Regions from separate parts of the Homo sapiens genome. Here regions 1, 2, 3, 4, 5 and 7 are each linked to region 6. The links are contacts of gene promoters, found by promoter capture Hi-C in blood cells and fetal thymus (Javierre and others, 2016). All regions are on one chromosome and are shown on one strand. Each heading gives the region's core, a stretch centred on a gene start or on the middle of the fragment in contact. The rest is flanking DNA. Distances are from core to core; before and after follow the strand shown.

Region 1 (3,705 bases), core at 1,118-3,617, 760 kb before region 6:
CCACGCAGTTCAAACCCATGTTGTTCAAGGGTCAGCTGTAGTCATATATTAAAACGTTGTCCAAAACCAAAAAGCTTTTATCCAAACTAGAGGATAGTGAGCCAGATGAATGTGAGTGGAAACCAGATGGAGTTTCAGGTCTTTCAGGAACCCTTGGTAGCTGTCATGAGGTGAATGGTGACAGCGGTGCACGGGAGGCACAAGAAGGGCAGCCAAAGCTATACTTGGGGAGGGTGTGGGAAGCAAGAGAAGAACATTCTGTTAGGGGCAGAGAAGAATCCCACACTCACAAGAGATGACCAGGAGTAAACCTGCCTGCCTGCCAAAAGTAGGCAAGATTTCATGAGTCAAAGCACAAGACCATTTCTGCTCAAAGCACAGCAAACAATATTAGCATCAGCATAATAGTGCTGGTTCCCCAGCCCATGCCCATGGGAGATGTGCTGTGATGGGTCTAGATGGTGCCTGTGTGCACAGCCTTGTAGCCGACGATCACAGGGCCCAGGGCTCAGCACCCTCTGTAGCAAGCAGCCAAGGAGCACCCTCCCTCCCTGAGGGGTGAGTGGCGCCAAGAGACATGCTGGCTGTGGTCACCTTGACCTTCTTAGCCACCTGCATGAGCAGCTGTGGAAACTGGTTAGTAACTAATTCTTTACCCAGATGTTCCTTCAAGATTTCATTACATCTTGCAGTGATCATTGACACCAGTTGTCACTGTATGGTTAACAGAGATCTTGAACTGGCCAATTACCAGGCTAATGGAGAATTTTTTTTTTAATCGAATGGGATACTGCAGTTTTTAGACCTTTTTGAGTAGAGGAGGGGAGAGTATGAGTCTTAGTTTATTTTTAATTGTCCAACAAATTCCAAGTTCTTAATTAAAATATTGAAAATTCATTACTTTTAGGACAAAATAATTCATTTTATAAATGACTAAGACTTCTGTCGTAGAAAGCCCTGGAGCTCTGCTTATCAGAAAACACTCTGGATAAGGAGATGTGACATGCTGGTTTTTTGTGTCATCTTTACGCTATAAACTTCCTCTGCTAATCTAAGTATTCTTTGTTCACGTGAGACTGCAAATTTAAGCTGCTGCTTCTAGCAAGATTTCCACCATATGCTAGAACTTAAATAGAAGCGTGTTTTTTGTACATTTCTGTTATGTGTGAAAAATAAAGTTTTGAAATTATAATATGTTTGAGCATGTTAGAATTTGTTCTGTATGGGCAGACTGTCCATTCTTATTAAGGCAGTTAAACAGGTTTTTGAATGGCCCCTTTTAACTTTTGGGTCAGGCTGTCACTTCTTATTTCTCTGCTCTAATAAATCACGATGGTGACTTTGGCAGGCTATCAAATGAATTTCCTTACTGGCTGCTTTTCCTTCTCTTCTTTTAACTGTGACTGTCCTCCAAGATCAGCTGCTTCTGGAGAGTGGTGTTTTGGTCCTACTAAATCACGTCCTCTCTTTGGTCTGTTTCTTCTGACAGCTTTGGGATCTGGACTTATATGCCATGCCCTTTAAACAAAGTTTTTAAAAATCTTCAACTAATTCTATACTTAGAGAAAAGTTGCAAAAATAAAACAGAGAGTTCCATAATTGCCTGTCTTTAGCCAGTTTCCCCCATTGTTAACATCTTACATAACCAATTGTTAGGTGGTTTTGTACAAACTAAGAAGTCAATGTTAGAGTTGGGTGTGGTGGCTCACACCTGTAATCTCAGCACTTTGGGAGGCTGAGGCCAGGTGGATCACTTGAGGTTAGGAGTTCGAGATCATCCTGGCCAACATGGTGAAACCTTGTCTCTACTAAAAATACAGAAAAATTAGCTGGACATGGGGGTGCATGCCTATAATCCCAGCTACTCGGGAGGCTGAGGCAGGAGAATCACTTAAGGTTGCAGTGAGCCGAGATGCACCACTGTACTCCAGCCTGGGCGACAGAACAAGAATCTGTCTCAAAAAAAAAAAAGAAAGAAAAAGAAGTTAACATTGGTTCGGTCCTATTCACTAAACTGCAGACCTCATTTGAATTGTCTCCATGTTTCCACTAGTGTCTGTTTTTGTTTCAGGATCCAGTCTGGGATCCCATATCGCAATGTGTTGGTTTTTTTCTCAGTTTCCTTCAACCTATGACAAATCCTCTGTCTTTCCTTGTCCTTTATAACCTTGACACTTCTGAAGAATATTTCTCAGGTATTTTGTAGAAAATTGCTCAATTTTGTCTGTTTTCTTGTGACTGGAATAGGTCATGTCTTTTGACAGCAATACCATAGAAATAGGTACTTCTCAGCACTTCTTATCAGGGGGTTCATATGATGTCAGTGTGTCTCCTACTGGTGACATTAACTTTGATCAGTTGGTTAAAGTAGTGTCTGCTGTGTTTCTCCACTGAAAAGTTACTATCTCTTCCTTTGTAATTAATAAATAAATACCTTGGGGGAAGATCATTTGACACTATGTAAATATATCCTCAAACTTCTGCTCATGAATTTTAGCCTCCATCAGTGGATCTTGCCTGCAACAATTACTCTGGTGTTCAAATGGTTATTTTCTGTTTCTTTCATTCTTTTTTCATTATTAGTGGAATTCTCCCTTAAAGAAGAGCTGACTGTTCTCATTAATATTATTATGGAGTCATGGGTATTTATCTTATTCTGTGTACTGTCATTGTTTATTTTGTTGCTCAAATTGTTCCAACTTTGGCTACTAGGAGGGCTTCAGCTTGGCTCCTGGGTCCTTTGGACAAACCCCCATCCTTTTATGAGCACTTCTTTACTTCATTTATTTTTTTTGAGACGGAGTTTCACTCTTGTCACCCAGGCTGGAGTGCAATGGCAAAATCTCGGCTCACTGCAACCTGCACCTCCCGGGTTCAAGCAATTCTGCTGCCTCAGCCTCCCAGATAGCTGGAATTACAGGTGCGTGCCACCACATCCGGCTAATTCTTGTATTTTTAGTAGAGATGGGGTTTCACTATGTTGGCCAGGCTGGTCTCAAACTCATGACCTCAGGTGATCCACCCGCCTTGGCCTCCCAAAGTGCTGGGATTACAGGCGTGAGCCACCATGCCCAGCCCACTTCTTTACTTCTGATACAAGATATTTCAGGCTTATCTTGTACTTTCTTCACCCCAGCTCTGGAATCAACCTCTTCTCCAAGGGCCCTGGTTTCTTTTACTGGAGAATGGCATTTAGAAACCAAGATCTACGTGCTAGGTATGCTCTTTGGTATTAGGATGTCATTACTTCTAGGTCTTCTCAGTAGATAGAACTAGGAAGTGTATTATACCCACACATGTGCATATATCTGTATTTCTCTATCCATCCCCTCTCTCTCCCTCTGTGTGTGTGTGTGTGTGTGTGTGTGTGTGTGTGTATCAAAAGCCTTAAGTTTATACTCATTCTCTCTGATTTCAATTTAACATCACAGGGTTTATTTTAGCCTTCTCTTATTAATATATAACTTCTTACTGCAACAGTGAGAGTCCTGGCTGTAATTATGTATAATGTACTTACCACAAAGAAGTAAATAAGTTCATAGTTTCAGAATTGCTAACTTATACCTCTTTAAGAAACACATTTACTACCTAGATTTACAGCATTTATGTACAGTTCTTTTTGCCTTTAGTTTTACAGCATCCAGTCAAGATACTGTTTTCCAGTTACTTAGGTTCTTTCTTCCTGTCCCATTCACCATGGTGTTA
Region 2 (3,403 bases), core at 904-3,403, 670 kb before region 6:
TCGAACTCCTGACCTCGTGATCCGCCCGCCTCGGTCTCCTAAAGTGCTGGGATTACAGGTGTGAGCCCCCGCGGCCGGCCAGTGCGGGGGTTTTTAATTTGCAGCTCTATGAAGCGCCCCCTCCCCACCCCCAGAAATGCTCCACCCACTGGGAGGCGGGGACAATGGCCAGTGGCTCCATGGCCAGAGAGAAACTATCTTGCTATTAGCCCATCGCACACAGCGAAAGCCCGGGGAGCCCATCAAGCACGCTCTCCAGATTCTCTGACACCAGCTGCATGGCCAGCAATTCAATTCAGTTCCGACAGAAGCTGCCCACAGTTAGTGCAGACTGCACGGTCAAAGGACTCAGTCCCACAGGACTGCTCCCACTTCAGACACCAGTGCAAATGGCGTCCCCAGGCTACCCCTACTTCTGCCTGGCTGATTACAAATTCAGGGCTCTCCTCCCGCCTTGCCAGGGGAGGCACCTGCTAGACTAGTATTTCTGCCTGCAATCTAGACCAGCACAGTGGCAGAACGGAATGTCTCTTCCAAGGGGGAAAAGTTTGGGCATAAATGGAGAGAAGAAACAAAAATAGCTGGAGGTAAAAGACAGAATAAATAAATGGGTTATGGCCAGGTGCAGTGGCTCACGCCTGTAATCCCAGTAGCTGACTGGGGAGGATCACTTGAGCCCAGGAGTTTGAGACCAGCTTGGGCAACATAGTGAGACCCCATCTCTTCGAACAAAAAAATTTTTTTGGAAGCTGGTTGTGGTGGCATGCACCTGTAGTCCCAGCTGCTTGGGAGGCTGAGGTGGGAGGATCGTTTGATCTCAGGGGGTTGAGGCTGCAGTGAGCTATGTTCGAGCTGCTACATTCCAGCCTGTGTGACAGAGTGAGACCCTGTCTCAAATACATAAAATGAATAAATGAATGAATGAATAAATAAATAAATAGGTTACGGAGGGAAGGAAATTTAATATTACATTAACACCTTCAAAGAGGCTTAGATCAAGAGATGGCGTTGTCCCTTGGCTCAGTTATACCAGATGCCTGAAAGATTGAAACCATATAGGCCAGGCACGGTGACTCACCCCTGTAATCCCAGCATTTTGGGAGGCCGAGGCGGGCGGATGACAAGGTCAGGAGTTCGAGACCAGTCTGGCCAATATGGTGAAACCCCGTCTCTACTAAAAATACAAAAATTAGCTGGGCGTGGTGGTGTGAGCCTGTAGTCCCAGCTACTTGGGAGGCTGAGGCAAGAGAATCCCTTGAACCCGGGAGGCAGAAGTTGCAGTGAGTTGTGCCACTCCACTCCAGCCTGGGCAACAGAGCAAGGCTCCGACTCAAAAAAAAAAAAAAAAAAAAAAAAGAGTGAAGCCATATATTGATATATTGCTGGGACTGCCCCTGCTTTCAGAACTTGATAAGACAGAATGGAAGCCTGCAAGCCTGGGCAGCCTTACCCTGGGGGACATTTTCATACATTTCATGGGATGGCGGACTGTATCGTTATTAAGGACTGATGGATTTTAGCAATGTGCTGGCATCTTTTTTATTTCTATTTATTTATTTTTTTGAGTTGGAGTCTCGCTCTGTCACCCAGGTTGAAGTGTATTCGTGTGAGCTCGGCTCACTGCAACTACTGCCTCCCGGGTTCAAGCGATCCTCCTGCCTCAGCCTCTCAAGTAGCTGGGACCACAGGCTTGCACCACCACGCCTGGCAAATTTTTGTATTTTTAGTAGAGATGGGGTTTCACCATGTTGACCAGGCTGGTCTCGAACTCCTGACCTCAGGTGATCTGCCTGCCTCGGCCTCCCAAAGTGTTGGGATTACAGATGTGAGCCACTGCGCCCTGCTGGCATCTTTTTTTTTTTTTTTTTTTTGAGATAGAGTCTTGCTCTCTTTCCCAGGTTGGAGTTAAGTAGCTCAGTCACAGCTCACTGCAGCCTCAACCTCTTGGGCTCAGGTGATCCTCCTGCCTCAGCCTCCTGAGTAGTTGGGACCACACGTGTGCACCACTATGCCCGGTAAATTTTTAAGAATTTTTGTAGAGATGGGGTCTTCCTATGTTGCCCACTCCGGGCATCTTTTGATGTTTATGATCATCTGACTGTAAGGGATTTGTGTTCAAAGGCCAGAGGGTAGCCTGTGATATTGTGATACAATAGGAAATATGTATTTGGTCTTTGCCTCACGTACCTGACAGAGCTTCTAAGGTCCTCGTAATTTCCTGAGTGGCAAAGATGAGAGGTACATCTTTTGTTATTCATCATAAGCCCCTTTCTTTTTCTTTTTTTTTTTCTTGTTTTGTTTTGTTGAGACAGGGTCTCACCCTGTCACCCATGGCTGGAGTGCAGTGGCACAATCGTAGCTCACTGCAGCCTCAACCTCCTAGCCTCAAGCAATCCTCCCACCTCAGCCTTCTGAGTAGCTGGGAACACAGTCACGTGCTACCATGCCTGGCTAATTTAATAAAAAATTTTTTTAGAGATGGGGTCTTGCCATGTTGCCCAGGCTGGTCTCAAATCCCTGGCTTCAAGGGATCTGCCTGCTTCAGCCTCCCAAAACATTGGGATTCCAGGTGGGAGCCACGGTGTCCAGCACTATTCCAGTTTATTATAAAAGATACAAACAGCCAGATGCACAGGAGCATAGGGTGGGGTCTGGAAGGGCCCTGAATGTAGGGCCACTGTCCCCGTGGAGTTGGGGTGCCCCACCTCCCAGGTAGTGGATGTATTTGGCAACCTGAACGCTCCCAGAAACCTATCTAGTGGTTCTTATCAAGGTTTCGTGACGTAGGCATAATTGATTAAATCATGGCCATTGGTGATTGGACCCAACTCCTAGTCCCTCTCCCCTCCCCAGAGGTGAGGAGTGGGTGAACTGAACCTTCTAACCCTCTAAGCATTCCAAAGCTATCTAGGTACCCCCACACTGAGTCATCTTGAGTCATCCCATTAGCATACGAAAGATACTCTAATCACTGAGGAGGGTCCAAGGGCTTTGGCAGCTCTGTGCCAGGAACCAGTGACAGGGAACAAAGACCAAGCAGATACTTTTTATTATACCACATAGGTCTTCACTTTTCTTTTTTTATTATTTTATTTTAGTTATTTATTTATTTTTAAAGACATAGTCTCACTCTGTCTCCCAGGCTGGAGTGCAGTGGTGCAATCTCGGTTCACTGCAACCTCCACCTCCTGAGTAGCTGGGATTACAGGCATGCACCACCACACCTGGCTATTTATTTATTTATTGAGACGGAGTTTCACTCTTTTTGCCCCGGCTGCAGTGCAATGGTGTGATCTCGGCTCACCGCAACCTCCACCTCCCAGGTTCAAGCGATTCTCCTGCCTCAGCCTCCTGAGTAGGTGGGATTACAGGCATGCACCACCATGCCAGGCTAATTTTTGTA
Region 3 (3,681 bases), core at 1,160-3,659, 790 kb before region 6:
ATGCCCGCCTCCACACCCCTGTCTTTGCATTGTTAGCTTTTACAAGTCACTAGAACCCTTGTAACATCACAACAGGAAAACTCATCAAAGCCTCTTGGCCTGAGTGGTTGAGGTTTCCAGATTGGTAGCTCCTTTTTCTGGAACAAAATAAGTTAGATGCTTTTTTGATTTCTTCCTTTAAATTAAAAATTATTGGTGGTTGATGGGGTTGGTGGTGGTGGTAATTTTTAAACGGAACTAATTTGTAGTAAGTCTTGATTTGGTAGAATTATTAACTGTGTCCCAGCTGTACATGTAGAGAACGCTGTTTTTCACTTTTTTTCATGCTAATATTCCTTTAACATCATTCTGCAGTGCACATGGAAGAATTGTGTTTATCCCATCACGTGTGTGTGTGTGTGTGTGTGTGTGTGTGAATTTCTGTAACCATGTATTATGGTATTATAATCACAGCCTTTATAAAATTCTTCACTGGGCTCTTGTTGCTGTTAACAGTAAGCTTAATGTCAATTTCTGTTTAGAGAAAAGAACGATTATGCAGTTGTTGAATTTCACCATAACCCCCCAACCCTTGCCACCTACCATCCAATTATATTTGGGCAGTGTCTGTATTGTGTGAGACTGAAGAGAGGCACGTGAGAATTCTGATTAGCTTAGGAGGATAACTGAATAGTGGTGGTATCACTTAGCGGCACTGAATCCAATTCTATGTGTCCCCAGGCACAACTGGAGGGGAAAGGAAGAAAGATTATTTAAACAGGTCACTGACTTCAGACCTTCACATAATTTGTTATTGTTGTAATAAAGCTTCAAATAGGTTTAAGGTTCATTCAGTGATCCTTTGTCTGCCTGTTTCTTTTTAGTAGGCCAAGGGCTGACTGTTCAACCTGTCCCTTACCTCACAGTGACTAGTAGAAGGAAAGTCTGCCCGCCTGCGTTGAATTGTATAGTTAAATCCTGGAATCCCTTAGCATGTGGTCAATTTCCAGGGTTGTCTCTCTGTTTTGTTTTTAAAAGAACTACTGTGGGAATTAATTTTTTTTTCAGAGATAAGAGTAAATGTTCCTTGTTTGGCAATTCAGTTTGCAGTTGAATTCAAGATCATAGAAGGGTAGGGGCTGCTTGTGCCTCTCCTCACCCAAAATGCTTGTTCTTAATTCTCTGGTCACCTCCTGAGCAAAGCAGGCTACTGATCTGTGACTTGGTTGGATCCCAAAGCAAGACACTTTCATTTTGTGGTGGTGATGATTTTAGTTATACATTACAGGCTTAATGCATGGTGTATTATTTTTATTATTTTTATTTTTATTTTTATTTTTTGGTACTAGTTTTGGACCAATCGAATACAAAGGCCCCATGAGTGCTGTTTACATTGAGAAGTTTGTCCGCCGGGTGATGAAACCACTTCTCTACATCCCATCTCAATCAGAATTACTAGATTTTCTCTCAAACTACGAGGTACTTGTCTTTCATATCTCCTCCTCCATACTCAAGGCCTTTCACGGGGTTGTATTGGATTGTTTGTTTTAAAGGGGTTTAAAAAAATACCTCCTGAATTGCAGCAAGTAAAAGGTCATGTGATAGATCAGCCCCAGTTAAATGCTTTTTGAGATACTGATTATAAGGATGGTTTGTCCAAGAGAGTTTTAAGAGAATAGAGTACTAGCAAAGTCTTTGTTTTTCGTTAGGGAATTTTCAACAGATTTTCATCTTGCCTTACAGTTAACTTAGAGTAGATGAGAATTAACTTACAATTTATGTGCAACTGCAAATTTCTAAGAATATTACTTGACACTTCTCATAGCATTGTACTATGAGATACCTGGTTTCTCTTGTCAGTTGTAGTTTGGTTTTTTTGAAAACTGGAAATATGTTCCCTTCCATATTATGAAGTATATAACTATTTGAAGGTCTTAATTGCAGAAAGTTTTCTAACTTTCCTGATGTAGCTTCTTTCCTGCTTCCCCACTGCCAACTTCAACCCCTGGTAAATTATTTTTATGGTATTTTCTTTTTTGAGACAGAGTCTTGCTCTGACACCCAGGCTGGAGTGCAATCTCAGCTCACTGCAAACTCCACTTCCTGGGTTCAAGTGCTTCTTGTGCCTCAGCCACCCAAGTAGTTGCAATAACAGGCAGTGCCACCACGCCCAGCTAATTTTTGTATTTTTCACTAAAGAGGGTTTCACCATGTTGACCAGGCTGGTCTTGAACTCTGGGCCTCAAGTGATCTTCCCATGTTGGCCTCCCCTCACAGTGCTGGGATTGCAGGTGTGGGACGCCACGCCCAGCCCTGTAGGATCTTTAATGCATGTTAAGAATGGCTTATTGTGAGGCCAGTATTGGGATTATTGAAAGATGTAGCCTCAAAAAATTATAAAAGTAGTTCTGCAAAAAATTCACTGGAGCAAGTGTAAAATCATACTTGAGTACAAGTAAAATGATACTTAGGTACAACAAAATCAAGACCATAAATACCTGACAGAGATTAAAAAACCATGTATATCCAGACCTTCCTGACAGTTTAGAATTGTGGCTAGTTGAATTTTACTGTTCGCACTATTTATATTCTGTATAGATTGGATACACATTTTTTCACCAGAACATCAGTATAGCTTTATTCAGTCATGTTGGAAACTACATATGTGTTAACTATTAGCAGAGATTCCCCAAGCAGCAGTATATCTAGTTATTCTGCTTTTAGTTCTTAGCTATGCATCAGAGTAAATATTCCTTAATTACATAGATAGCAGATGGATGTCTGTGCACCTCAGAGGCCTGCCTCTCATTTTCCCTGGGCAGGCTGGTGGGTGAGGGCTATATTAAGAGGCAGGGTACTGGGGCCTGATCCCTTTGGCACACTCACTGGGTTTGTGATTTGGGGCGGGTTACTCACTTCCTGGGCATCAGGGGCCTGGGCCAGGGTATCCTTGAGATTCCTTCTAACAGTAAAGTTGTGGTAAGTGGGTTTTGACATGGTTCTTCAGTGGGTTACAGCCAGAGCCACTCGGGATGGCACAGCAAAATGGTGAAGAATCAGGAGTCAGACAGACCTGCTTTTAGCAGTACTCCATTGATTGATTGATTGATTGATTGATTGATTTAGAGATGGTCTCACTCTGTTACCCAGGCTGGAGTGCAGTGGCATGATCTTGGCTCGCTGCAATCTCCATCTCTCAGGTTCAAGTGATTCTTCTGCCTCAGCCTCCTAAGTAGCTGGGATTACAGGCATGCACCATCATACCTGGCTAATTTTTTGTATTTTCAGTAGAGATGGGGTTTCACCATGTTGGCCAGGCTGGATTATTTTATTTTTTTGAGATAGGGTTTCACTCTGTCACCCAGGCTGGAGTGTGGTGGCATGAACTCGGCTCAAGCGATCGTTCTGCCTCAGCCTCCCAAAGTGCTGGGATTACAGGTGTGAGCCATCATGCCCAGCCCAGCAGTACTTTAAAAGACTATCCTCCAAGTATTGGTGTGGAGTTCATGTTAGACTCACTAATCTACTGACGACATTACTGCTGATGACATTTAAAACATTACATTAAGTTTTTTGGCAGCCCACTTAGAGTGATGTACAACAGTGATTAAACTGGACTGCCTTTAAAATGGGAACCACAAGAGTGCTACCAAGATGGGGTCCCTAGATCACTTCTGTCAGCCTTTAAAATGACTTCCTCCC
Region 4 (3,507 bases), core at 85-2,584, 740 kb before region 6:
ATAGAAAGATTCGACAAGTTGCCCAGAGTTTCAAGCTGCAAATGAGGGGCCAGGATTAAATCAGGCATTCATACTCCAGCCTCCCCGGAAATTAAAATGGTTTAGAAGATGGCTGAGACCGATTCCATTCTGAACAAAGGATGTGAGCAGGTTTTTCTTTTAAGAGGAGAGAGTAAATAAACAAGTGGGGAAATTATAACCTAATAAATGTAAATTAAAACAGTAACAAAGTATCATTTAACATATTAAAGTAATCAGTGGTTTTAAGTGACAGAATCTTGTGTTGATAAAATAAAATGGAAACTGCAGTCAGATGTATCTAATGGAATGAGTACATTGCCATAACTCTTTTGGAAAGCATTTTGGCAACATTTACAAGAAATCAACAAAAACAGTTAACACATTTTTGACCCAGTTAATTTTACTTTGGAGAAGTAATGGAATAGGAATTCCGAAGAAGCATGAGCTCATCATTATAGCATTGTTTACATCCACCAGGAGATGAATGTTTAAGTAAATTATGGCTGGGCATTTAATGGAATTTTTATCCTTCAACAGTGCTTTTCATACAGTTAATGGAAAAGAACAGAGTATGAAATATATGACAACTCTTCTTAAAAATATGTAAGGATATAGGCGAGGTGCAGTGGCTCATGCCTGTAATCCCAGCATGTTGGGAGGCCGAGGTGGGCGGATCACCTGAGGCCAGGAGTTCGAGACCAGCCTGGCCAACATAGTGAAAACCTGTCTCTACTAAAAATAAAAAATTAGCCAAGTGTGGCGGCACGTGCCTGTAGTCCCAACTACTCAGGAGGCTGAGGCAGGAGAATCACTTGAATCCAGCAGCCGGAGGTTACAGGGAGCTGAGATTGCACCACTGCATTCCAGCCTGGGCGACAGAGCAAGACTGTGTCTCAGAAAAAAAAAAGTAAGCATATAGACCAAGCCTGCAGCCTGCATAAGAAAGGGGGGCCTTATTTAGCCCAATGGAATTCTGAGTGGATTTTTACAATGTTTTAATTTTATAGTTTGCTTTCTTTGAAGTAAGAATCAAGTGAGAAAAAGCATTTAATTATGGAATATAGTGTTCACTCCCACTTGTTTAGAAAGGAACACTAATGTTTTAGGTAGGCTGGCACAGGTGAGGCAGGAGTGCTGTTTTGTTAGTAAACTTTTGGTAAATGGTTTTCATTTGGTTATGCCTTTTGTTGCTGTTGTTGTTTTTTGTTTTTGTTTTTTTTTTTGAGATGGAGTCTTGCTCTGTTGCCCAGGCTGGAGTGCAGAGGTGCAATCTCAGCTCACTATAAGCTCCGCCTCCCGGGTTCACGCCATTCTCCTGCCTCAGCCTCCCGAGTAGCTGGGACTACAGGCGCCCGCCATTATGCCCAGCTAATTTTTTGTATTTTTAGTAGAGACGGGTGGCGTTTCACCGCGTTAGCCAGGATGGTCTCGATCACCTGACCTCGTGATCTGCCTGCCTCGGCCTCCTAAAGTGCTGGGATTACAGACGTGAGCCACCACGCCCGGCGTTGTTGTTTTTTTGAGACAGGGTCTCACTCTGTTGCCCAGGCTGGAATGCAGTGGTGCAATCACAGCTCACTGCAGCCCCAACCTCCCAGGTTCAGGTGATTCTCCCACCTTCCCAAGTAGCTGGGACTACAGGCATGTGCCAGAATACCCGGCCAATTTTTTGTAGAGACAGGGTTTCCCCATGTTGCCCAGGCTAGTCTCGAACTCCTGGGCTCAAACAGTCCACCCACCTCGGCCTCCCAAAGTGTTGGATTTACAGGCGTGAGCCCCTGTGCTCAGCCTGGTTGTGCCATTTTTTGAAAAGCAAATTTCATCCTTTTGGACACATACATGACACTTACCGCACCCTCACTCCCCCCAGTTATGCTTTCTAAAAACTTCTGTCAAGGTAAAGATTGAAAACATGTTCATCTTTTGTGTGCACTGTTTATGAATAGTAGCTGAATAGCCCCTCCGCAAGGAGGATGCAGCCCCTTCCATAAAGGATGCTGTTGTGGCTCCATGTCTGCTTAGCCCGAGTGTGGGCGCCCAGCTGTGTGCCCAGCTCTGTGCCAGCTGCCCGGGGCAGGCCTCTAGAGCAGTTGCGGTTAGCTCCCACAGTGATTGAGCACAGGCTGGGTGAGTTAGTACAGATGTCATTTTCTGTATTAGAAAATTAATGTCAAATCTGCTAAGAAAATAGGCTGTTTTTGGTCTCTATCCAGATTTACAACATAAAGAGGGTATAATTTTCCATCTTCAGAGGGGCTTGATGTATTTTGCTCAATGATTTCCTTTCTTTTCCCAGAGCTATTCAGGGATTAAAATACTTGGCTAGATCCTGTCAGGTGAGGAGTGAATGACTCCTCAGGTGTCAGTGCGGCATTTTCTGCAAGTTCATTTTTACTTTCAGGACATCACATTGCCACTCAGTGGAAAGCGTCCACGTAGTAGAATGTTGTATGTCTTGGAAGTATCAGCGCCCAGCTCACACCTGGTAGTACATTCATCGAGAAGGGACTAGCCCAATGTGGGGTGTAAAAAATGCACCAGGTTCTTGAAGTTATCTGAGAAGGTTCTTTCAAGTTGGTGTTTCTTGGGCTGATCATCTGCCATTTCTGTTCTTTCCCTTTACCAGGATTGACGTGTCTCAGAATGACCTTCCTTGGGAATTTATGGTCGATCGTCTTCCTACTGTCTTGTTTTTTCCCTGCAACAGGTAATGCCAAATTTTTGTCACTGGTGGGCAGTTGGGATTCTTTTGTGGAGGTCTGAAAATGAAATGGGTTTAAGATGTAAATCATTCATTATGTTCAAAAAATGTTCCCTTAGGAACCAGGCGTGGTGGCTCATGCCTGTAATCCCAGCACTTTGGGAGGCTGAGGCAGGCAGATTGCTTGAGCTCAAGAGGTTGAGACCAGCCTGGCCGACATGGTGAAACCCCATCAGTACAAAAAATACAAAAATTAGCCAGGCATGGTGACATATGCTTGTAATCCCAGCTACTCTGAGGCTGAGGCACGAGAATCTCTTGAACCTGGGATGCGGAGGTTGCAGTGAGCCAAGATCACACCACTGCACTCCAACCTGGGTGACAGAGCGAGGCTCTGCCTCAAAAAAAAAAAAAAAAAAAAAGTGTCCTTAGGGACATAAAAGGGTTGTAGTGTCAGGATGTTATGTGTGGTATGGATCTTTTAAAGGTTGTTTTTCCCAGTCTATCTCTTACCCGAGCTTGAATGTGGCCGTGAGAATTCTTAGCTTTCATGGCCTGTATGAACATATGGAGGACGCAGAGACTGACAGGATTCTTCTGTTGCCCTGGCTGGAGTGCAGTGGTGCAATGTTTGTGTGGGGCAAAACAGCAGAGAATCTGTGGAGCCCTGCCTGCCCCAAGCCTTCCACTTGCTTGTCTCTCAGTTGGCCTCCCAGCAGCTCCTCATCCCTCTCGTACAGAGGACAGGGTGGCTTTCTTACCCATGGCACGTCCTTTTCTCGGAT
Region 5 (3,492 bases), core at 807-3,306, 720 kb before region 6:
GCAGGGACAAAGGGAGAACACTGAGCCCGAGGGATCCCCAAGCCCACCCCCAGGGCCAGAAGGGCACAGAGCCTGGCCCAGGCCCAGTGCCACAAACACCCCTTCCCCAGGGACACGCTGCCTCCTCCTAACTCAACCGGGCACATCATGAGCATTGCCGGGCTCACCACCAGCAAAACACCCCCGCCTTGCAGCCGCCACCTCCTGAGGCTCCTTGACAGACGCCAGGAGGGCTGCCCTGCTTACAGGGGACCAGCCATCCCTACGGGGCTTTCAGTACTGCCTCCCCCCATAAAGCCACCTGCCAAGGGTGCCAACAAACTCTTCAGCGAACCCCGGGTCACAAACCAGAAACGTTTCCTGCCCCAGGTTCTGACTGGGAAAACAGGGTTGTAGGGAGAAGAGGGCACTGCTGGACACAGCCAGGACGAGGCGGGACGTCCGTTCTGCCCTGGGCCTCCAGCAGCCAGTGGGACACAAGGACGCATCACACAAGGCCCCAGCCCTCCAGAAGCCAGGACCAAGAACGGCCGGATGCCAGTGGGACTGACACTGATGGGGCTGTGCCCAGCTCTCTGGCCAGTGTTATCTCATCCTCCACCCCCACCCATGACACCCCCATCCTCAGAAGAGGAAACTCGCTCCAGAATCCCCTAGGTTCCCCAGTGGCAAAAGAGGAAGCGGGAGCCCGCAGAGCTCTGAACCGGGACTGCCCCAAGGTCAGTCGGGGTCTTCCTCGGGCCAGGCCAGAGGCTCATGCCCCCACCCTGTGAATCACCCGCTGGTCATTTTCACAGGCTGCCCCAGGGTTGGCCTGTTTGGCCAAACAACTTTGCTTGTAGATGCCGGAGAAAGTTGGTGGCAATTATATGTGCCAGACACTGAGATAAACAGCTCACGCAGATGTCTCCTTTCTGCCTCAAGACAACAGGGCAGTTGAGCTATTACTGTTCCCTCTTGGCAGATACAGAAATTGGTGGCTCAGAGAAGTTAAGTCCATTGCCCAAGGTCACACAGCTCAAAAGTAGACGCGCAGGGATTCAAACCCAGGCAACCTGCATCCAAAATCCCGCATTTCGACCCTGACTCTAAAATGCCACATTCTCCCTACCTCCTCTCCCGCGTGCCTGAGGGGCCGCGGACAGGTGAACCCCAGTGTGGCCCTCGCTGGGGCGGGCTGGGCGACCTGGGCTGGGTGCTGGGGACTTAGGGGTGACAGCGCCCCGGCGGCTCCCGAGTGCTGAGCGCGGGCGGCGTGGCAGGCGCGGTGCCAGGCGCGCTCCGCGCACCCTCCCGTTCCACCCTGCCCGGCGGCGCCGGCGTCTCCCCCACTCCACGGAGGAGCAAAGCGAGGCTCCAGGGAGGAGGGGGCTCGGCCCAGGGGGCGACAGCTGGAGAGGGGACGGCAGCTGGGGAGGTAGCTCGAATCGGCCCGACGGAGGCGGGGTGTGGGACGGGGACCAGGGGAGCTAGGCATGCCCACGCCGCGCAGCCGCTGCCCACGGAACCGGGCGCCGAACGCTGCGGCCCGGCCTCAGTTTCCCTACCCGCGAGACGGGCGCCGGACGTCACCTGGACCCCTATCCCCGGAGCCCTCCCCGGAGCTCCCAGAATTTTGAAGAACCCCGAAATGCCGGGGGAAGGCGGGAGCGTAGCTGAGGACGGGCGGGGGCTGCACGGGCGGGGGCGAGCGCCCCGCGATCCCCACAAAGCGGCCTCCGCCCCCCGCCGCCTCCTTTGTCCGGATCTCGCCGCAGCGCCGCTGACAAAGAACCCCAGCCCGCGGGCGCGGCCCCTGGAACGGACCCTCCCCCGAGCCGCGCCCGCCGGGCCGCCCCTCCCCCGCCCGCAGACCCCGGCCCGGCCCCGCCGCCGCGCGCGCCCCTCCTCGTCCTGGCCTCCCCCTTCCCGCCCCCGGGCCCCGGCGCCCCCGCCCGGCCCGAGCGCGCGGCCTGCCCCGCCCGGCTCACCATGGCGCGGCAGCGGCCCGGCCCGATCGCCCCGCAGCAGCCCCGCGGGCCCGGCTCCGCCCGCCCGGTCCGGCCGCCGCGCACTCGGGACGCAGGAGCCCCGCGCTGCGGCGGGCGGGGCCCGGCTCCTCCCCGGCTGGGGACGGGGCCTCCCAGAAAGGCCAATGGGAGCCCGCGCTGGGACGGCGGGGCGGGGCGGGCCGGGGCGGAGTCACGTGTGCTCGGGGCCGGCAGGCGGTGGGGCGGGGGCTGCGCGCGGCGGGCGGGCTCGGCCCTGGCGAGCGCGGATTGGGCGCCCGTGGGTACGGGGCCCCACTACAGGCGCCCTTCCTCTGCCAGCCTCATCCTGACCCCGGCAGGCTGCCTTGGTCCCGCCTGCTTACAGCGGAGGAAACTGAGGCACGCTGCACGGAAGAGTGCTGCATACTCCTCGAGAGCTGAGAGCGGCGGGGAATCCGGGGCAGGGGCAGGGGAGAGGCGCGACCGCTGAGGTGAATGACCTTGCTTCGGGAGGAAGCTGGGCATCAGTCGTTCGCGAATTCATTTATGTATCATTCATCCGCCCAGTCAGTCGATGGCGGAACACTGACCACGTGCCTGCCACGCCAGTCGTCGTGGGAGCAGCCACGAGCCAGACAAGGTCCCGGCCCTGACGAAGCTCTCATTCCTCTGCGGGATGAGGCTGTGAGGCATTTGCACCCCTCTGCCACCTATAATCATAGTTATTTTTAGCATAATTACCCGGTGGTTTGGCCCCCACCAAATGCCTGCCCTGTATAAACAGCCCAACACATTTTATTAAGATGACTCCGGAAGAAAGAATCTTCCCATTTTACAGATGAGGAACCTGAGGCTCCAAAGAGCTGAAGTCCCACAGCCTGCTCCTGATGGAGAGAGGGTTTTGAGGCCAGGCCTGTCTACCTGGGAAGACAGAGGCTCCAGTTATTGGAGTAATCTCCACTCATCCACCCCAAGAAGGCCATCGGCGAGAGGACACCCCAGCCCTGGGGCCCACAGAAGGGGTGAGGGTGGGTCCCTCAAGGCTTCTGTGGCCCAGGGGACTTGAGAAGACAGGAGGGGGCAGGGCGAGCTGGGACCTCCTCCTGGGAACGGGGGCCTTATTTGCTGGAAACTTCTTTCCCATTCTCAAGCAGAAGCCTCTGGAAGAGCATGGCGGGTTGGGCTCACGAGGCTGAGGTGGCCAGGCCCTCACTCCCTCCACTCAGCCTCGCTGGGCTTTCTTCCCTGCGCCCAGTGCACCAAGCCTTTCCCACCGCCAGGCCTTTGCCTATGTGGCTCCCTGCAGCTGGAACTCTTCTACTTCATCTTCCCGATCTCAGCTTAAGTGCCCCTTCCTCAGGAGGGCCCTCCCTGATCGCCCAGCCAAGAGTAGCTCCCTTGGGGTTTTTTGTTTTGTTTTTGAGACGGGGTCTTGGTCTGTCACTCAGGCTGGAGTACAGTGGTGCAATCACAGCTCACTACAGCCTCCATCCAACTCCTTCCTGGGCTCAAGCCATCGTCC
Region 6 (3,914 bases), core at 1,102-3,601:
TCGGGAGTCAAATCCTGCCTCTGGTACCCTTCAGCTGCTGACACCTGGGGGCAAGTCACTGAAGCCCCCTGAACCTTAGTTTCCACTTCCGTAAAATGGAAACAATAATGGTTCCTGTAACTCAGACTTGTGAGGACTAAGGGAATTAACACACAGGCAGTCCTTAGCAAATACCTGGTACAGAATAATGCATTCGATAAATTAATAAATTAAGGTAATTTAAAAGGGCTAGAGTTAAGCAGAGTTAGGTGAGAACCTGGAGGTACCTGGATGCCGGCAGGAGGCCCAACCTCCTCTGGATAACTCCCCTCCCCTCCTCAGCCACCTCCGCCCACTCGATAAATTCCTGAAATCCTTCAACCACTCCCTTTCCCGGCCAGCTGCCCTCCCATCTAAGATCCCCACCTCCCTACCCACCCCAGACTTGTCCTGGGCCTCTTTCCTCCCCTTGTCTTCTCTCACCACCTCCTGCTCTAAAAGTGCCCCTCACCACATAGTGAACCCTCCTGCTCCCCACTCTTCAAGACTCACAAACGTTTACTAAATGCTGCTCCATGCTAGAAAGGTCACAGCTGAGAACTGTGGCCCTGCCACTACCCCTACCCCACTCCCGGGGACACATGAGAAGTCCCTATCTAATTCCCTCCCACCAATCCTTTCCACAGCCCCGTCTCCCTTCCACTACTTCCCACCATATCCCTAACCCTATCTTCCTCCTTTCCCATTAGTAGTCTCAGGATCTCCTTCTGGAAACCTGCCTATTTCTTGACACTGAAGATTTGTCTACTCCCCTCTTCAGCATCCCCGCCATTTCCCTCCCTAAAGCCTTTCCCTTCATACAGATCTCTATTTTTCATCATCCTCCACACCTGCCCCCAAATCCTGGGTCCTGGCCTGCATGCTCTTCATCTCTCCCCAATTCAATCATTCATTTTTCCACTCTTTAAGTAAGCAGAGAGCAGTCCTAGATGCTGGGAATACAACTGTGAACAAACCAAGCAGTCTGTGCCCTCGTGAAGTGCCAGTTTAACAGAAGACAGAAAATAAGTATAAATAAAAAATAAAGAATAATCGCAGAGAGTGGAGAAGCACTCAATGAAAGCAAGAGAAAGATGTGATGGATAGGAACTGGGATGGGGGGAGCACGTTAGGTAGGGTGGTCTGGGAAGGCCTCGCTGAGCTGATAATAAACACAGCTACCACTACTGGCCACCTACTATGTACCTACTGGGTCAGTCACCTTCCATTTCCATTACAATGTTCACGATCCCCATTTGCAAATGGGAATCTGGAGGCTCAGAGAGGTGAAGTAATTTGCCCAAGGTCACACAGCCAGTAAATGGTGGTTTCAGGATTTGAACGCAGGTGTGGCTGCAAAGCCAGCCTCTTAATTTCTGCACTCCTGGTCCCAAGACCCTATCTGCCACCTGTCCTCCCCCAGAGCTGTAGAGTCATTCCCTCCTCAGAGGTCTCTATTTTTCATCATCCTCCCCAATCGCCCCAAAATCCTGGGTCTCAGCGTGCATGCCCCCAGCTTAGACTCCCCTCGGAAAATAATCTGTTCTTTTATAATAATTAATGCCGTTTAATGAGCAATTGTACGTGTTCTGAGCTTAACGTTCATTCTCTTATCCAACCAACTCTCAACACAATAGCAGGAAGCAGGTGCTGTCACTCTACTCTTTTTACAAGTGGGGAACCTGAGGCCTACATTCACACAGATAGATTCGGACCCAGATCTGCCCGACTCCAGGACCCAGGCCTTTGACCCTCTAAGCTGTTCAGTTTAAGAAGTACCCCGCCAGGAAACTTGGTGGACACCGTCAAGAACAAAGTCTGTGTCCATAAACTGAAATCGCATCCTCTCGCTTTACAGGTGGGGATACGGAGACTCTGAGAAATTAAGCGACTTGTCCAAGGTCACACAGCCAAGAGCGACGGGGTCAGGGTTCGAACCCAGGCGCCCTGACTCCCGAGCCCTCGCTCTTAACCACCACACGGGCTTCCCCGGGCGCCCTTCGCCGCCGCTCTCACGCCTCCTAGAGCCCCGACCCGGAGCTCGGCGCCCCGTCCCCCTGTCCAGCCCCGAGGCCTCCCGCTACGCCCCCCACACTCACTTGAGGTGGTCCAAGGAGTGGATGTTGCGGGAAGTCTTGCCATGGCCCCCGCCCACCCAGCTCCGCGAGCGGCCAAACATGTCGGCGGCCCCGACCCGTCTCTCGTCTCACGGTCTCATGCCGGACCAGCAGAGCGGCCCAGCGCCCGCGGCGGTAGCACAAGCGGAGGATGCGGCGGCGGAGGCGGTGGAGGAACCGCGAGCCGCCTTCCTCCCCGGCCCACAGCCCAGCACTGACATTCAGCCGGAACCGGCCGTTCGACCGCCGCGCTTTACGGCCGCCGCCGCGTGGGGCGCTGGGAAATGCAGTTCACCCGCGTGGCCTTCGGCGGCAGGACTCCGCGAACGGACTACAAGGCCCGGCATGCATCGTGCAACCGCGGGCCTACGGCCATCCACAAAAGGCGGGGCGAGAGGAGGAGCGACCGCAGAATCCTCCGGGTGGGCGGGAATTGGAAGCTTTGGGCGCAGTCCCGGAGAGGGAATCGGCGTAGATGGGTCAAGGAAAGTCACCACTGTAGTAACAATTACTAGATTTATAATAAGAATAAGAATAGTATTGGATGGTGTATACTATGCAAAGCCACTATCCTAAGGGCTTTACATATTAAGGTATTTAATTTTCACAACCATCCTATGAATTGGGTACTATTATCGAACCTATTTTATCATCAGGGAAACGGAGTCACTGAGAGGTTGACTTACCCAAGATCATGCAGTTAACAAGTGGCAAAACCAGGGTTCATAACCACGCACGCACCCTTATTTTTCATTCCCTTTATAAACCAAAACGGCACTAGATAACAACCTTATTTGTCCTGACAGCCTTTTTCTTTTTCCACTTCAATTAAGTGTGTGTGTGTGTGTGTGTGTGTGTGTGTGTGTGTGTGTGTGTGTGTGTGTGTGTTGGAAAAGGCTGGATGCAACAATGCACCAAACTGAACATTTTGTACTTCCAGAGGATTCCTCTGGTCTTCAGCCAGAATCCATGCTATTTCCCAAAGTACCACGTTAAAATGAAAAAGGAAACACCCAACTTTCTGCATGAGCCAGAATATATCTAACTTCTACCCTGGATTAGAAGTGGTAAGTTCAGTGTGGGCAAGACTTCTCAAGTTTACCATCCATTCATTCATTCAGTCACTTCTACATATCAACCTTATTAAAGGTCCACTGTGTCCCATTAACTCTGCTCAAGAAAGAACTGGGCCAGAGGCCAATGTTCTCCCCAGTGCCTAGCACAAGGTTTGGCACATAGCAGGTGTTTAACAAATATTGGTAGAGTGCATGAATGAGTAAAGGTTTGTTTCACCTTCAGCAGTTGGAGAAATGGATAAGAGTGGAGAGTTAATGGTTTGTCCTGTAATTCATATAGAGTGGGGCAAGACAAAGTCATGGAGCAAAAAAGAACAGGATCTGGCCTCCAAAGAAACACACCCAGGCTCAGAAATGTAGGATCCCTGGGCTCGTATTTTTCATCTGTAAAAAGTACGCACATACATACTACACTGCCTTGTATACCTCCGATTAAGCGATGCATGTAAAATACTCAGCTCAGTGTGGCCTGAGATTTAAAGGTTTCTTGAACTGCTTTGGAAGGCTCTTTGGGCGAGATCATGTTTTCCTGAAAGACATGCAACGGTTACCCAAGAGCAGGGGAACCAGTGGGTGGGAGAGACTCACTTTTCTGTGTACTTCACGGTTGTTTGAATGTTTAGCCATGTGTATTATTGCTTTTAAACATGATTCACAAAGTAAAAAGAAACAAAAAGCATCCTTATGGTTGAAGATCTGAACT
Region 7 (3,680 bases), core at 1,052-3,551, 700 kb before region 6:
CCCAGCTAATTTTGGTATTTTCAGTAGAGACGGGGTTTCACCATGTTGGTCAGGCTGGTCTTGAACTCCTGACCTTGTGATTTGCCTGCCTCGGCCTCCAAAGTGCTGGGATTACAGGTGTGAGCAACTGCACCCGGCCTTTTTTTTTTCTTTTTTTTTTTTTTTTTTTTTTTTTATGACAGAGTCTTGCTCTGTCTCCCAGGCTGGAGTGCAGTGGTGTGATTTCAGCTCACTGCAACCTCTGCCTCCCAGGTTCAAGCGATTCTCTTGTCTCAGCCTCCCGAGTAGCTGGGACTACAGGTGCACCACCACACTCAGCTAATTTTTGTATTTTTTAGTAGAGATGAGTTTTCACCAAATTGGCAAGGCTGGTCTCAGACTCCTAACCTCAGGTGATCCGCCTACCTCGGCCTCCCAGAGTGCTGGGATTACAGGTGTGAGCCACCAGGCCCGGCATATATCTCCTTTTTTCTAACATAGAAAATCTGGGTTTCTAACAACATTAACACAATTTCTTCCTTCCTTCCTTCCTTCCTTCCTTCATTCCTTCATTCCTGTCTTTCTTTCTCTCTTTTTGAGTCAAGGTCTGGTTGTATCACCCATGCTGGAGTGCAGTGGCATAATCTTGGCTCACTGCAACCTCTACCTCCTGGGCTCAAGCCATCCTTCCACCTCAGCCTCCTAAGTAGCTGGGACTACAGGCATGCACCACCAAGCCTGGCTAGTTTTTGTATTTTTTAATAGAGACAAGGTTTCGCCAGTTTGAGGAGGTCTCAAACTCGTGAGCTCAAACGATACACCCGCCTTGGCCTCCCAAAGTTCTGAGATTACAGGTGTGAGCCCCCGTGCTCGGCCAATTTCTTATTTTCTTTATCCTATATTACAAAGATAATCATTTCTTTTTAAAAATTTACAAAGAAAAGAGGTTTAAAAGTTCAAGATTGGGACCAGGCGTGGTGGCTCATGCCTGTAATCCTAGCACTCTGGGATGCCGAGGCAGGCGGATCTTTTGAGGTCAGGAGTTCGAAACCAGCCTGGCCAACATGGTGAAACCCCATCTCTACTAAAAATACAAAAAATTAGCTGAGTGTGGAGGCAGGCGCCTGTAATCCTAGCTACCTGGGAGGCTGAGGCAGGAGAATTGCTTGAACCCAGGAGGCAGAAGTTGCAGTGAGCCAAGATGGTGCCATCGCACTCCAGCCTGGGTGACAAAGCAAGACTCCATCTCGAAAAAAGAAAAAAAAAATAGTTGAAGATTGGGCAGCTGGATTTGGTGAGGGCCTTGGGCCGTGTCCACTCATGGTGGATAGCAAAGAGGGAGCAGGCATGTGCAGAGATCATGTGGTGAGAGAGGAAGCAAGAGATGGCAAAAACCTGACAGCTTCACTGTCAGAATGCTAATATAATCACTACCTATAAGATAACTGAGTACAGGTGAGGATTTCAATGTAGTTCTGTTTCATGGTGGTTCTTTTGTCCTTAGGGTAAAACCCACTAGAGATATATAATATCTGGTATAATACAATCAAAGTGCTATTTTTTTTTTTTTTTTTTGAGACAGAGTTTCGCTCTGTTATCCAGGCTGGAGTACAGTGGCACAATCTCGGCTCACTGCAACCTCTGCCTCCTGGGTTCAAGCAATTCTCCTGCGTCAGCCTCCTGGGTAGCTAGGATTACATATGTGTGCCACCACTCCCAGCTCATTTTTTATTATTAGTAGATAGAGACAGGGTTTCACCATGTTGGCCAGGCTGGTCTCGAACTCTTGGCCTCCCAAAGTGCTGGGATTATAGGCATGAACCACTGTGCCCTGCTCAAAATGCTTTTTTTTTTTTTTTTTTGAGATGGTGTCTCGCTCTGTTGCCCAGGCTGGAGTGCAGTGGCACAATCTCGGCTCACTGCAACCTCTGCCTCCTGGGTTCAAGCAATTCTCATGCATCAGCCTCCCGGGTAGCTAGGATTACAGTTGGCCAGGCTGGTCTCGAACTCCTGGCCTCCCAAAGTGCTGGGATTACAGGCATGAGCCACTGTGCCTGGCTCAAAATGCTATTTTTGTTTTTTGAGACAGAGTCTCGCTCTGTCACCCTGGCTGGAGTGCAGTGGCACGATCTTAGCTCACTGCAACCTCCACCTCCCGGGTTCAAGCAATTCTTCTGCCTCAGCCTCCCAAGTAGCTGGGATTACAGGCATGTGCCACCACACCTGGCTAATTTTTGTATTTTTAGTAGAGACGGGGTTTCACCATATTGACCAGGCTGGCCTTAAACACCTGATCTCATGATCTGCCCGCTTCGGCTTCCCAAAGTGCTGGGATTACAAGCATAAGCCACCGTGCCCAGCCTCAAAATGCTATTTTAAAGTCACTTTCTGTGAGCTCAATGGCAGAACACACGGACACATACAGGGGAACAACATACACTGGGGCCTTTTGGAGGGTGGAGGGTGGGAGGAGGGAGAGGATCAGGAAAAATAACTAATGTGTACTAGGCTTAATGCTTAGGTGATGAAATAATCTGTACAACAAACCCCCATGACACAGGTTGACCTATGTAATAAACCTGCACTTGTACCCCTGAACTTCAAATGAAAGTTAAAAAAAAAAAGAAGAGGCTGGGTGCAGTGGCTCACACCTGCAATCCCAGCACTTTGGGAGGCCAAGGTGGGCAGATCACCTTAGGTCAGGAGGTCAAGACCAGACTGGCTGACATGGTGAAACCCCATCCCTACTAAAATTACAAAAAAATTTGCCGGGCATGGCAATGCCTTCCCGTGATCCCAGGTATGTCGGGAGGCTGAGGCACGAGAATTGCTTGAACCCAGGAGGCAGAGATTGCAATGAGCTGAGATTGTGCCACTGCACTCCAGCCTGGGTGACAGAGTGAGACTCTGTCTGGAAAAAAAAAAAAAAGGAAAAAAGTCACTTCCAATAATCCTTCTTAGTGTGGTTATGCCAAATTGGCATATACTCAGGGTTTTTTACTTTTTTTTTTTATTTTAAGGGATCGGTCTTTTTGTCTTTGATTTTACTTTGTAATTTTGTAAAATATTTACATTTACCAAATAGAAACTCTGAAACAAGACACACTCAGAGAAGCTGAGCTTCCACCCCTCCATCACCAGTCTGCCTCCTCTTACCCTGTAAATACCCATGTTGGCTTTATCATTCCATCGTTTTTCTTTGAAAATGTGAACAAACATATACAAACCACAGGTGTATTGAGAAGGTAGGTAGCATGCTTTGCATTCATAGTTCTGATCCTTGGATACTGTTATTTATTTATTTATTTAAAATTTTTTTTGAGACAGAGTCTCACTCCATCACCCAGGCTAGAGTGCAGTGGTGCAACCTCGGCTCACTGCAACCTCTGCCTCCAGGGTTCAAGCAATTCTCCTGTCTCAGCCTCCTGTGTAGCTGGAATTACAGGCGCCCGCCACCATGCCCAGCTAATTTTTGTATTTTTAGTAGAGATGAGGTTTTGTCATGTTGGCCAGGCTGGTCTCGAACTCCTGACCTCATGTGATCCACCTGCCACGGCCTCCCAAAGTTCTGGGATTACAGATGTGAGTCACCACACCTGAACAGTTATTTATTTTTTTTTGCTTAACCATATATCCTGGAGACCACTGCATTGTAGGATAAGGAAACATTTTTTTTTTTTTTTTGAGATGGAGTCTCGCTC

Evidence for each region. The method cuts DNA at HindIII sites, captures the fragments that hold promoters and counts their contacts. A CHiCAGO score of 5 or more calls a contact.
Region 1: a fragment that was not itself captured here is called in contact with the fragment with the promoter of CLEC16A in region 6 in 10 of 17 cell types (naive CD8 T cells, activated CD4 T cells, erythroblasts and 7 more); the score reaches 12.9 in naive CD8 T cells.
Region 2: a fragment that was not itself captured here is called in contact with the fragment with the promoter of CLEC16A in region 6 in 1 of 17 cell types (activated CD4 T cells); the score reaches 5.9 in activated CD4 T cells.
Region 3: a contact is called between a fragment that was not itself captured here and the fragment with the promoter of CLEC16A in region 6, in 12 of 17 cell types (activated CD4 T cells, naive CD8 T cells, total CD8 T cells and 9 more). The highest score is 14.1, in activated CD4 T cells.
Region 4: a contact is called between a fragment that was not itself captured here and the fragment with the promoter of CLEC16A in region 6, in 9 of 17 cell types (total CD8 T cells, naive B cells, naive CD4 T cells and 6 more). The highest score is 9.6, in total CD8 T cells.
Region 5: a contact is called between the fragment with the promoter of SNN here and the fragment with the promoter of CLEC16A in region 6, in 9 of 17 cell types (activated CD4 T cells, total CD8 T cells, naive B cells and 6 more). The highest score is 13.1, in activated CD4 T cells.
Region 7: a fragment that was not itself captured here is called in contact with the fragment with the promoter of CLEC16A in region 6 in 1 of 17 cell types (fetal thymus); the score reaches 6.6 in fetal thymus.

Annotation. Positions count from the first base shown.
Region 1 is chr16:11,703,182-11,706,886 of GRCh38, reverse strand. The region is part of intron 5 of TXNDC11 (thioredoxin domain containing 11); the gene reads left to right. Among named protein-coding and RNA genes, the nearest start is that of SNN, 37 kb to the right of the region's middle. The HindIII fragment of the contact is 4,582 bases long and covers 77-3,705 here.
Region 2 is chr16:11,615,380-11,618,782 of GRCh38, reverse strand. It overlaps a transcript of LITAF not described here. Among named protein-coding and RNA genes, the nearest start is that of LITAF, 30 kb to the right of the region's middle. RefSeq lists an enhancer at 3,237-3,403. The HindIII fragment of the contact is 7,613 bases long and covers 1-3,403 here.
Region 3 is chr16:11,728,422-11,732,102 of GRCh38, reverse strand. TXNDC11 (thioredoxin domain containing 11) reads left to right here. Exons shown (of 12, transcript NM_015914.7): 4 at 1,329-1,458. Among named protein-coding and RNA genes, the nearest start is that of TXNDC11, 13 kb to the left of the region's middle. RefSeq lists an enhancer at 3,515-3,574. The HindIII fragment of the contact is 3,200 bases long and covers 810-3,681 here.
Region 4 is chr16:11,683,386-11,686,892 of GRCh38, reverse strand. TXNDC11 (thioredoxin domain containing 11) reads left to right here. Exons shown (of 12, transcript NM_015914.7): 11 at 2,648-2,728. Among named protein-coding and RNA genes, the nearest start is that of SNN, 17 kb to the right of the region's middle. The HindIII fragment of the contact is 6,503 bases long and covers 1-3,507 here.
Region 5 is chr16:11,667,019-11,670,510 of GRCh38, reverse strand. SNN (stannin) reads right to left here and starts at 2,056. Exons shown (of 2, transcript NM_003498.6): 1 at 1,971-2,056. RefSeq lists an enhancer at 757-856 and a silencer at 1,964-2,383. The HindIII fragment of the contact is 10,329 bases long and covers 1-3,492 here.
Region 6 is chr16:10,943,001-10,946,914 of GRCh38, reverse strand. It overlaps CLEC16A (C-type lectin domain containing 16A), which reads right to left and starts at 2,351. Exons shown (of 24, transcript NM_015226.3): 1 at 2,118-2,351. The coding sequence starts at 2,197. It also overlaps a transcript of CIITA not described here. RefSeq lists enhancers at 2,279-2,338, 2,559-2,738. The HindIII fragment of the contact is 6,288 bases long and covers 1-2,577 here.
Region 7 is chr16:11,645,081-11,648,760 of GRCh38, reverse strand. No RefSeq gene overlaps it. Among named protein-coding and RNA genes, the nearest start is that of SNN, 22 kb to the left of the region's middle. The HindIII fragment of the contact is 8,808 bases long and covers 1-3,680 here.